2 separate regions of the Homo sapiens genome follow, and region 2 is linked to region 1. Evidence: promoter capture Hi-C in human tissues and cell types (Jung and others, 2019). All regions are on one chromosome and are shown on one strand. Each heading gives the region's core, a stretch centred on a gene start or on the middle of the fragment in contact. The rest is flanking DNA. Distances are from core to core; before and after follow the strand shown.

The links. Contacts are between HindIII fragments. The study calls those that stand out against the background at their distance.
Region 2: a contact is called between a fragment that was not itself captured here and the fragment with the promoter of C8orf76 in region 1, in 3 of the 25 tissues and cell types used here (H1 embryonic stem cells, dorsolateral prefrontal cortex and mesenchymal stem cells).

Annotation. Positions count from the first base shown.
Region 1 is chr8:123,239,680-123,244,741 of GRCh38, reverse strand. C8orf76 (chromosome 8 open reading frame 76) reads left to right here and starts at 3,365. Exons shown (of 6, transcript NM_032847.3): 1 at 3,365-3,512. The coding sequence starts at 3,396. The region is part of intron 2 of ZHX1-C8orf76 (ZHX1-C8orf76 readthrough); the gene reads left to right. RefSeq lists a silencer at 3,459-3,578 and an enhancer at 3,079-3,579. The HindIII fragment of the contact is 18,562 bases long and covers 1-5,062 here.
Region 2 is chr8:123,126,488-123,132,112 of GRCh38, reverse strand. It overlaps TBC1D31 (TBC1 domain family member 31), which reads right to left. Exons shown (of 22, transcript NM_145647.4): 13 at 5,426-5,605; 14 at 3,600-3,832; 15 at 2,895-3,047; 16 at 1,780-1,915. Among named protein-coding and RNA genes, the nearest start is that of TRM-CAT1-1, 28 kb to the left of the region's middle. The HindIII fragment of the contact is 4,422 bases long and covers 1-3,476 here.

The sequences.
Region 1 (5,062 bases), core at 2,116-4,615:
CAGCTCACCGCAACCTCTGCCTCCTGGGTTCAAGCGATTCTCCTGCCTAAGCCTCCTGAGAAGCTGGGATCACAGGCATGTGCCACCACGCCTGGCTAATTTTGTATTTTTAGTAGAGATGGGGTTTCTCCATGTTGGTCACACTGGTCTTGAACTCCCTATCTCAGGTGATCCGCCCGCCTCAGCCTCCCAAAGTGCTGGGATTACAGGCGTGAGCCACCTTGCCCGGCTCCTTTCTTTCATTTACCCATTCACCCATCCATTCAACAGGATTTGGATCTCCATAAATCAAAAAAACACATTTATTGCGGTGGTCTGGGCCAATCCCTGACTGGGGGCTGAGTTGACAAGAGTGAAAAAGACACCACCTCTAACCTCCAACAGTCCACAGAGTGCTAAATGCCACCGTGGATGGATAGAAGCATGGAAGAATTACAGGAAAGAAGGAGGGCTGCCTGGAGGAGGTGCTGGTTACCTTGTGATGGGGAACTCAATCAGTCACCTCAATCAAAAATCAGATTTTTATAGATAAAATTCTACAGAAACAGGTTTTAATCACAACCACACAATTTTGGATACTTGCAGAATTCCAGTTTCCTAACACTGCCTAACACTTGGCATTTCCTTAGTGTATAAGGTGGATTTAACAGTCACAGAGCATATAATACCCTTCTATTTTATTGGTTTACTTTTGAAAAATGACATTACCCTAGCGCCTCTCTATCAAATGAGGCAGTGGTGTGTAACTTGGGGTCCCAGACCCCTGGTCCTCAGTAGTGATAGGAGTCTTTGAAGTGTTTTCATTATTGCCAGAGGTCCGATGCTAATCATATTTTACCTTTCTTCAGGCTTCCCAGGGCCCTAAGAGCTGGTGCTTTGCTTTCAAGTGGAATTCTAATGTACAATGAGGCCATGCCAGTAGACTCAGGCTGGGTAGAAGTTTGGATTGGCTGTTATATAGGATCTGGATTCTATTTTTTAAAGGAAAAATAATTATTAGCTAATAAATGCAGTTTTATTTTATATAGAAATCCTCCACAACTTTCAGGGAGAAACTGAAAGGGTCATTAGTGGTAAAAAGGCTGGAAACACCCGAGCCCAGGAATCCTGAGTCTAAAGGGCAAATAACTACCTTTTATCCATAAGCACCCTAACACTTCCTGACCGTTTCAGCAGAAAAAAAAATTTTTTTTTTTTTGAGGCGGAGTTTCGCTCTTGTTGCCCAGGCTGGAGTGCAATGGTGTGATCTCAGCTCCCGCAACCTCCGCCCCCCAAGTTCACGGGATTCTCCTGCCTCAGCCTCCCAAGTAGCTGGGATTACAGGCATGCACCACCACACACTGCTAATTTTGTATTTTTAGTAGAGATGGGGTTTCTCCATGTTGGCCAGGCTGGTCTCGAACTCCCGACCTCAGGTGATCCACCAGCCTTGGCCTCCCAAAGTGCTGGGATTACAGGCGTGAGCCACCACTCCCGGCCAGAAAAATGTTCTTAAGTGGATCTTGATGAATTCATTCATCAGTAACTAATGCCTGGAGGCTGTTCAGCTGGAGCCTCCCACCTGAGGCTGCTGGATAAATGAGCTGGTTCTAGATTTTGGCAATAATTAGCAGAGAGATGGATTCTGAAACCTGGGGGAGTGGATTAGGTGAGTTTGTGGAGGAAAAAGTTGGGTTGAAGAAAGAACGCTGAACCTGGTCAACATGAAAGAACCCCTCTCTACTGAAAATACAAAAAAGTAGCAGTGTGTGGTGGCCCGCGGGAGGCTGAGGTGGGAGGATGGCTTGAGCCAAGGAGGTTGAGGACGCAGTGAGCCGAAATTGCGCCTCTGCACCCCAGCCTGGGCGACAGAGCGAGACCCTGTCTCAGAAATAAATAAACAGATAAAATTTTAAAAAAGAAACCTGGAAGACAGATAAATGGTGGAAGAGAAACTGGTGAGAGTGAAGAGGAACAGGAAAAAAATCGGGGAAAACCTTTATGTTTATTTCCTACTGTGTAATATGGCACAATATTGTGCTGTACAGTATTGGCCAGCATTTTGTCAACAATCTTTACTTTCTAGAGTCAAGAAATATCTTAAAAGTATAAGAATTGTAGTAAATGTTAGTCTTAGAATTTTGAGATTTGGTGTTCTCCAGGTCGAATGAATGCTCCCTGATCTAGCCTCCCACGGTATATTTCTGTGTCTTTTCTTTCATAAATGCGTGAATGACTCCGGTCTTTGTTATTGGTGGTAGTGTCTCTTGTCCGGAAGCACGGAGAGTACGCATTCATTTCTGTATTTCCCAAGTTTCAGCCACATAATGACCGAAACTTAACAAGTTACTTAACCTCTCCAAACTCCAATATCTTCAAAATAGGATTTGCAAAATGGGAATCACTTTGGCTTTCATAAGGTGGTTGTTAGCCGAAAAGAAAAAATGTGCTTAACACAGTGACGGGAATGCACAGTGGTTGACAATTGGTACTTGCACCGGGCTTAGTGGCTCACGCCTATAATCCCAGCACTTTGGGAGAACGAGGTGGGCGGATCGCTTGAGATCAGGTTCGAGACCAGCCTGGGCAACGTAGGGAAACCCAGTCTCCACAAAAAATACACAAGTTAGACGGTCATGGTGGCGCGCGCCTGTAGCCCCAGCTACTTGGGGGACTGAGGCGGGATGATAGGTTGAGTCTGGGAGTTCGAGGCTGCAGTGAGCCATGATCTCACCACTGCACTCCAACCTGGGCGACAGAGCGAGACCCTGTCTCGAAATTATTTTATTTATTTTATTTTATTTTATTTTTTATTTTGAGACGAAGTTTCACTCTTGTTGCCTAGGCTGGAGTGCAATGATGCGATCTTGGCTCACCGCAACCTCCGCCTCCCGGGTTCAAGCGATTCTCCTGCCTCAGCCTACCGAGTAGCTGGGATTACAGGCGCGCGCCACTACGGCCGGCTAATTTTTGTATTTTCAGTACAGACCTGGTTACTCAATGTTGGTCAGGCTGGTCTCGAACTCCCGACCTCAAGTGATCCGCCCACCTTGGCCTCCCAAAGTGCTGGGATTACAGGCTTGAGCCACCGCGCCCGGCCTCTTATTTTAATTTTTAAAAAGGTACCTGCGAGTTTTAAACAGCTACTCTGGGGCCAGCGTGCTTTTTGATGCGTGCAGGTAAGGATCATTCTGTCCATCTCCTGACACAGAGAAGTCAAAACCTCCGTCCTGGGGTTCGGTCAGTTAGTGGGTCAGATAATCATCTCAGCTCAACCACTACTCCCAACCAGCAGCGGCCACGTCCCCGCGTCGCCCTCAAAGACTACAAGTCCCAGCGTGCCGCGCTCTGGGCCGTGGAAGCCCCGCCTTTTCCGGCGGGCCCCGCTTCCTCGTTGCCCCCGCCGCGGGCGCGAGATGGATTCCGGGTGCTGGTTGTTCGGCGGCGAGTTCGAGGACTCGGTGTTCGAGGAGAGGCCGGAGCGGCGGTCAGGACCGCCCGCGTCCTACTGCGCCAAGCTCTGCGAGCCGCAGGTGAGAAGCTGGGGCCTCTTCGCCTTATCCCGGGCCCCAGGCCTCGCCCTCCGCGGGGCCCCGGCCCCGGCCTCGGCCCCTCCGTCCGCGCGAACGCAAACCCTGGCAGGCTCCAGCGCCCGCCGCGTCCCCCGCCGTCCCTCCTCCTCCACGGGGAAGCGGCTTTCCCAGGCCCCATTCCGGGTCCATGGGCGAGAATCCCCGCGTTGTAAGCGGCTTGACTCCCACTTGGCATTTGGCCGGCCTGGCTGCTGCCGGCTGGTCTCAACGCCCCTGCCCTGCAATCTCCGGTACCTCCCGTTTGTCTTCACTGCTCTTACAGCTGGGCAGTCAGGCCTCCCAAAACGGTGACCTCCGGCAAACCCACTCTCCCCTCCCTCTTCGGCGAGCTCCCCCTGCCCGTACCAACCCCGCGCTGATGGTTAAAGTCCTTCAGTTATATCCGTTTTTCAAGGCACATCTTAAATGTCATCTCCTCTAGGAAGTCTTTTCTGATTTCGTCTTCCAGCCAAATATTTTTGTCTTTGGCCCCCTTCCCTCTATTTAGCTTCTACTTAAAGCACTTGTCAGTATTCCCACAAAGTCCTGAGACCCGGAGTGCTAAATGATCGCACCAGCATGGGTTCTTGATGCCCTTGGCAGTGCCTAACAGTTTTTATTAATAATAGTGACTCCGCGAATATTTTTGAATTAGTAGAGTATTACTTCCTATTCTTTCATGAGTGTAAATAGTTCATCAGTCAAAACTAATATTTATGGAAAATACGGAAGTGTTCCGGGCACTGTGGTGGGTTCCTTCGCATATACTGTCTCATTCGTTCCTCACAATTGTACTGACAAGATGCCAGGCACTCGATAATTACTGAATTGTGTTTTTGGTTATTTCAGTTGCATTTTCTCCTTATCACATACGATCTTTCAAAGTTACCTTCAGCCCTGGATCATGTAGACTCAAAACAGGGATTGGGCTTGGAAATCATGTGGCAGAACATTAAAAAAACTCTGGTTATGAGATAGGACTCTTGAATTCCAGTGTTGGCTTTAACCACTTGCCTTGAAGGTGTCAGCTCCTTATTTGTCCCTTCAGAAAAATAATACATGCTGGCTCACAGAGTTATCGTGGGAGTGAAATGAGATAATGTATATGAAAATACTTTGTCAGATCTGATGTGCTGTACAGGTGCATAGAATTTAATATAAATTCTAAAATGAAGTGATTTTTTTCTTTTCTTTTTTTTTTTTTTGAGGTGGAGTTTGTTGCCCATGCTGGAGTGCAGTGGCGCGATCTCGGGTCACCCCAACCTCCACCTCCCGGGTTAAAGCGATTCTCCTGCCTCAGCCTCCCAGCTAGCTGGGATTACAGACGTGTGCCACCATGCCGGCCTAATTTTGTATTTTTAGTAGAGACAGGGTTTCTCTACTGTTGTTAGCCAGGCTGGTCTCAAACTCCTAACCTCAAGTGATCTGCCCGCCTCGGCCTCCCAAATTGCTGGGATTACAGGTGTAAGCCACTGCCTTTCCCTACGTTATTTATTCAATAGTCAAGCAAT
Region 2 (5,625 bases), core at 16-2,515, 110 kb after region 1:
GATCAAATATGTAAGAGAATTTAATATGTAAAAACCATCAGTTGGCAAATGACTTGGATAATAGTCAACAAATGGTGTTGGGACAATTGACTTGCCTTTTGGAAATAAGTAAGCTAACCTGACAGAAAGTTAAGTCTAACTTGACAAAAAGATGGACAAATGATACAAATATGTAATGTGTAATTCTACACATGGAAGATAAGTAACAGAAAAGATACTTAACCTCACTAACAATAAAAAAAGGCAAATTAAAATAGACGATTTGTCATCTATCTGCTTGGCAAATATTAAGACTGATGCAGTACAATTGACTATACTAGGGAGTGGGTACTCTTACAGACTTAAAACAGCTGAAACTGTTTCATTTTTAGAGAACAATTTGTCATAATTTAGAAGTTACTCAACAAAAGTATGTGTGCAAGTACTCAAAGACTTTTACAATGTAGCATGGTTTTGTAATTTGCAAAACACTGCAAATAACCGAAATGTCCAATAGCAAAGGATTAAATAAGCTATTAATTCAATGGAATATTATACAACCACAAAAAGAGAAATAGATACACATATAACAAATATGAAAAGATATTCAGCATATGAAATTTTAAAAAGCAGGTTACAAAAACAATGTATAATGAGAATAATCCCATTTTTGTATAAATATAGGAAAACATGACTATAATTACTCCTCTATCTATAGAACATACCTGAAAGTCTATGTAATTAACCTTTTTTTTTTTTTTTTTTTTTTTGAGACTGAGTCTCACTCTGTCGCTCAGGCTGGAGTGCAGTGGCATGATCTCGGCTCACTGCAGCATCCACCTCCCAGGGTCAAGCAATTCTCCTGCCTCAGCCTCCTGCGTAGCTGGGATTACAAGCGCCTGCCACCATGCCCAGCTAATTCTTGTATTTTTAGTAGAGACAGGGTTTCACCATGTTGGCCAGGCTGGTTCCGAACTCCTGACCTCAGGTGATCTGCCTGCCTCGGCCTCCCAAAGTGCTGGGATTACGGGCATGAGCCACCGCACCCAGCCAATTAACCATTTTTTAATAGTGTTTCTCTGGGGATGACATGAGAACTAATGGAGAAGGTCAATTTTTAATTCTGTATGTTTTGTACTGGAAATTATTTTTATACTGGCCACAGATAATTTTTATATGAAAAAAGAATATGTCCCCTAATTAAAAATTAACTGCCGGGCTTGGTGGCTCACGCCTGTAACCCCAGCACTTTGGGAGGCCAAGGTGGGCAGATCACCTGAGGTCACGAGTTTGAGATCAGCCTAGCCAACATGATGAAATCCCGTCTCTAAGAAAAATACAAAAATTAGCTGGGTGTGGTGGCGTGCACCTGTAATCCCAGCTACTTGGGAGGCTGAGGCAGGAGAATCACTTGAACCCGGGAGGCGGAGGTTGCACTGAGCTGAGGTCACGCCACTGCACTCCAGCCTGGGCAACAGAGCAAGACTCTGTCTCAAAAAAAAAAAAAAAAGAAAAGAAAAGAAAAAATAACTTAATGGCTAACTGATACTGATATTTCTAGTTTTAGAGAAATAGTCACCAAGGACACTTGACTAATTTTCCTGGCATTTCTTAAATATTTAGCCATTCATGAAATACAAAAGAGAATGAGAAAGCTGAGGGGAAAAGTAAATAAAATTAAAGCGGCTATTTAGTATTCATGGTGGACTCTAAGAATATTATTTAATTTGAAGGTGTTCATTACATTTAAGTGAGAGTAAATGGAGATGATGTATGAGAACTAAGTTAAGAATAATAAACCTTTCTCCCAATTTCATCATCCAGTCTTCTTAGTTCCATTTCCTGTTGATCTTGCTGAAGCTTCAGAAAACGCCTTCTTGCAGCATCTTGTAAGTGCATTTCCTTTACTTTCAGCTCTCTTTTCACAGCAGCTAGCCTTAAATACAAAATACATCAAGTGGAACAAATACAGCAATTCCTAATATGATTTAGTTTTTTCATAACAGGTCTGCCATGCTGATCATTTCAATACAATTGATATCCTTTATTTGAAAGAAGAATGCGAGAACTGCTCCACCGTTACCAAAGATGATGTATACTTATGCTTTAAGAATTTTAGTAGAAAGCTCACTGGCTCAGTTCAGTAATTCCTTTTAACCCACACTATAAATCTGTTACATAAAGTTCCATCTAAGAATAGGAATCAATAAACACAGAAGTGAGTTTCCCAACTATTGGGCTTAGTCTCAATGTTTATCCCATTACTTTACTTAATTTACACATTTTACCTTATTAACATACTTTTATGTATTTATTTTTAAGTTTTTTCTTTTTATTTTTTAAGAGACAGGGTCTCACTATGTTGCCCAGGCTGGCCTTGACCTCCTGGGCTCAAGTGATCCTACCTAGTAGCTGGGACTATAGGTATGTGGCACCACACCCAGCTAACGTACTTTTGAATACGCATTTAATACTCATTCCCCTGTCCTCCAAAGTGTTAAATGGGTAATGACATAATCATTCTATGTTACAACTGTCAGGTCACACAGGTATGTTTAAAACACAATTAAAAAAATTATACTCTACTAAAGGTGATGTACCTAGCATTCTATTACAAAGCATTTCTGCCCACTATAGAATAATGTTTCTAAATAATGTCCTTCAAGGAACATTAATCCATGCAAAGCTATATTATATTCAGCATAGCTTCAGAATTACATTTTACTACATAGCAATTTTTTTTGAAAAGTGGTATATAAAGATTCTTTTTATTAACTTAATAGTTGCTTTATAGAAATGCTACAGCTGGGTAATCCTATATATAATGTTGTTTCTAAAATGAAAAAATGAAAGAACATAAAAATTATTCAACTAACTTATATGTCCAGATTTTTTTTTAAAGTGATAACACATACCTCTGTCTTTGTTGTATCATTTTCTCCTCCTCTTGTAAGAGCATTTCTCTTCTTGTTTCTTCAGCTTTACGAAGCAGCTCCTGTTTCTGGTACCAAGCTTCATCTTCAACTCTTTGCTGGTCGACTTTAGCTTGCATATCTTCAACTGTCTGCCTTAAGTAGGTAATATTATTATGAAAACACAAAGAAGAAAGCTAAGAATCATCAAAACACAAAATGTATACCGATTAATGTATAATCTATTTTATTTCCATATGCAAGAATTAACTATCTTTAATATTTCTAGCCTTCAAACTCTGATTTTACACAAATACTCATAATTTAAATGCATTTTTTTTTTTTTGAGATGAAGTCTCACTCTGTCGCCCAGGCTGGAGTGCAATGGCATGATCTCCGCTCACTGCAACCTCCTCCTCCTGGGTTCAAGTGATTCTCCTGCCTCAGCTTCCTGAGTAGCTGGGACTACAGGGGCGTGCCACCATGCCTGGCTAATTTTTTGTATCTTTAGTAGAGACGGGGTTTCACCATGTTGGCCAGGCTGGTCTCGAACTCCTGACCTTGTGATCTACCTGCCTTGGCCTCCCAAAGTGCTGGGACTATAGGCGTGAGCCACCGCGCTCAGCCAAATGTATTTTTCATTAAAACTTTCTTATGTTTATAACATATTTCATTGTATCAGAAAAAGAAAAACTATTCCATAATTACCTCTCTCTTAAGTAATCCAATTCATCATTCCTTATTCTTTCTCGTTCCTGTGTTTGATAGTCCACAATAAACTTTGGATATTGATTAAATACTGGATACTGCCCTTTTGTCAGTGCAACAAAAACATTAAGCATGCTGTCTGGATGAATGTCAGTAGGCGTGGTCTCCATGAGATGATAAACTTGTCTAATCACAACATTTATATCCAGGTTATTCCGATGGTGAAAAAAAAACTGTAAGAAAACTTGGTGTTTAAATCGAGATTTACCTGACAAAGCAATTATGAGGTAGAATTAAAACAAGAATTTAAAAAAAGTGTATCTATCTTTAAGAATATATATTTTTTTGCAAATTCATTAAAGCTTTTCTTTACTCAAGTTTTACAACAAAGACAATTTATTTAAAAAATGTAAGAGTTTCACAATCATAAGAAATTCTGACATAAAATTAAAAAATGAAGGCTTTTCTTACAATAGAAAAAGAATGCTTCAACAATGGAACAAACTCTGCTTGGATTTTTTTTTTCTTCAAAATCCAAAATAAATTATAAATTAGCCTTTGAAAATAAATTAGCTTGCTTCTTTAAAAATATCTAAAAAGTTTCCACATTATCTTGTTTTGCTGGAAGATCCAAATTAATGTATCACAGGATCATGAAGTAAAAATAAAGTTTAATTGGACAGTAACCACTAAATAAGTAACACATACACACACACACAAGAACCCAACTAATTCATCTTGTCTACCAAAAGAGCGTCTACTTTTTATAATGATCTTAATGCTTTCTTTCAGACACTTTCCTGCCAAGTCTCAAAACTCTCATAGTTACCTTTTGCATGTGTAATAAGCATTCAGACCCTCTAAGACCAGATGGGTCATGATAAGATTATGCACAGAATAACAGAATAACCTGTTAAACATCCTTTATAAAAGCAAGAAGCAGCCGGGCGTGGTGGCTCATGCCTGTAATCCCAGCACTTTGGGAGGCCGAGGCAGGTGGATCATCTGAGGTAAGGGGTTCGAGACCAGCCTGGGTAACCTAGTGAAATCCTGTCTCTATTAAAAATATAAAAAACTTAGCTGGGCGTGGTGGCGGGCACCTGTAATCCCAGCTACTCGGGAGGCTGAGGCAGGAGAATCTCTTGAACCCGGGAGGCAGAGGTTGCAGTGAACCGGGACTGTGCCATTGCACTCCAGCCTGGGCAACAGAGCGAGACTCTGTCTCCAAAAAAAAAAAAAAAAAAAAAAAAAATGCAAAAAGCACAAACCCCAATATTATCATGATTCTTTTCTTAAGCTATGATTATAAGACTACTAGCCTGCTATAATTGCCTACTTTATTGTCTATAAACTGTACACAGGTAGGGATGTGGTCTAACTTGTTATCCTTTATATTCCTACTACCTAGCACCAGTGTCTGACATATAACAGGGACTCAATAAATAAATGGATTTTTCAATTGAAATAACTGATATGGCCTGGCACTGTGGCTCACGCCTATAATCCCAGCACTTTGGGAGGCCGAGGTGGGTGGATCACGAGGTCAGGAGTTTGAGACCACCCTGACAGCATGGTGAAACCCCATCTCTACTAAAAATACAAAAATTAGCTGGGCATGATGGTGCGCACCTGTAATCCCAGCTACTCAGGAGGCTGAGGCAGGAGAATCGCTTGAACTTGGGAGGCGGAGGTTGCAGTGAGCTGAGATCGCGCCATTGCACTCCAGCCTGGGCAACATAGCGAGACTCTGTCTCAAAAAATTAAAAAAAAAATAGAGAGAAATAACTGATATTTGAGAACCTTCTCTTAAGAACAAGGACCGTTACCTCAAAGTCATCTTTAAGATTACAGCTGAGCAGAGGCGTTCTAGAACATATGTTGTAGGCTACAACAGTCATCAGAAGGAAGGAAGGATGGTTGGAAAAGATATTATCGAACAATTTCAGCCACTCCTCTCTTGTCAGCACTTCTGAGAACACAGTTTCAAGAAGAGGCCATGCATATAGCTAAAACAGATAAGGAAAAA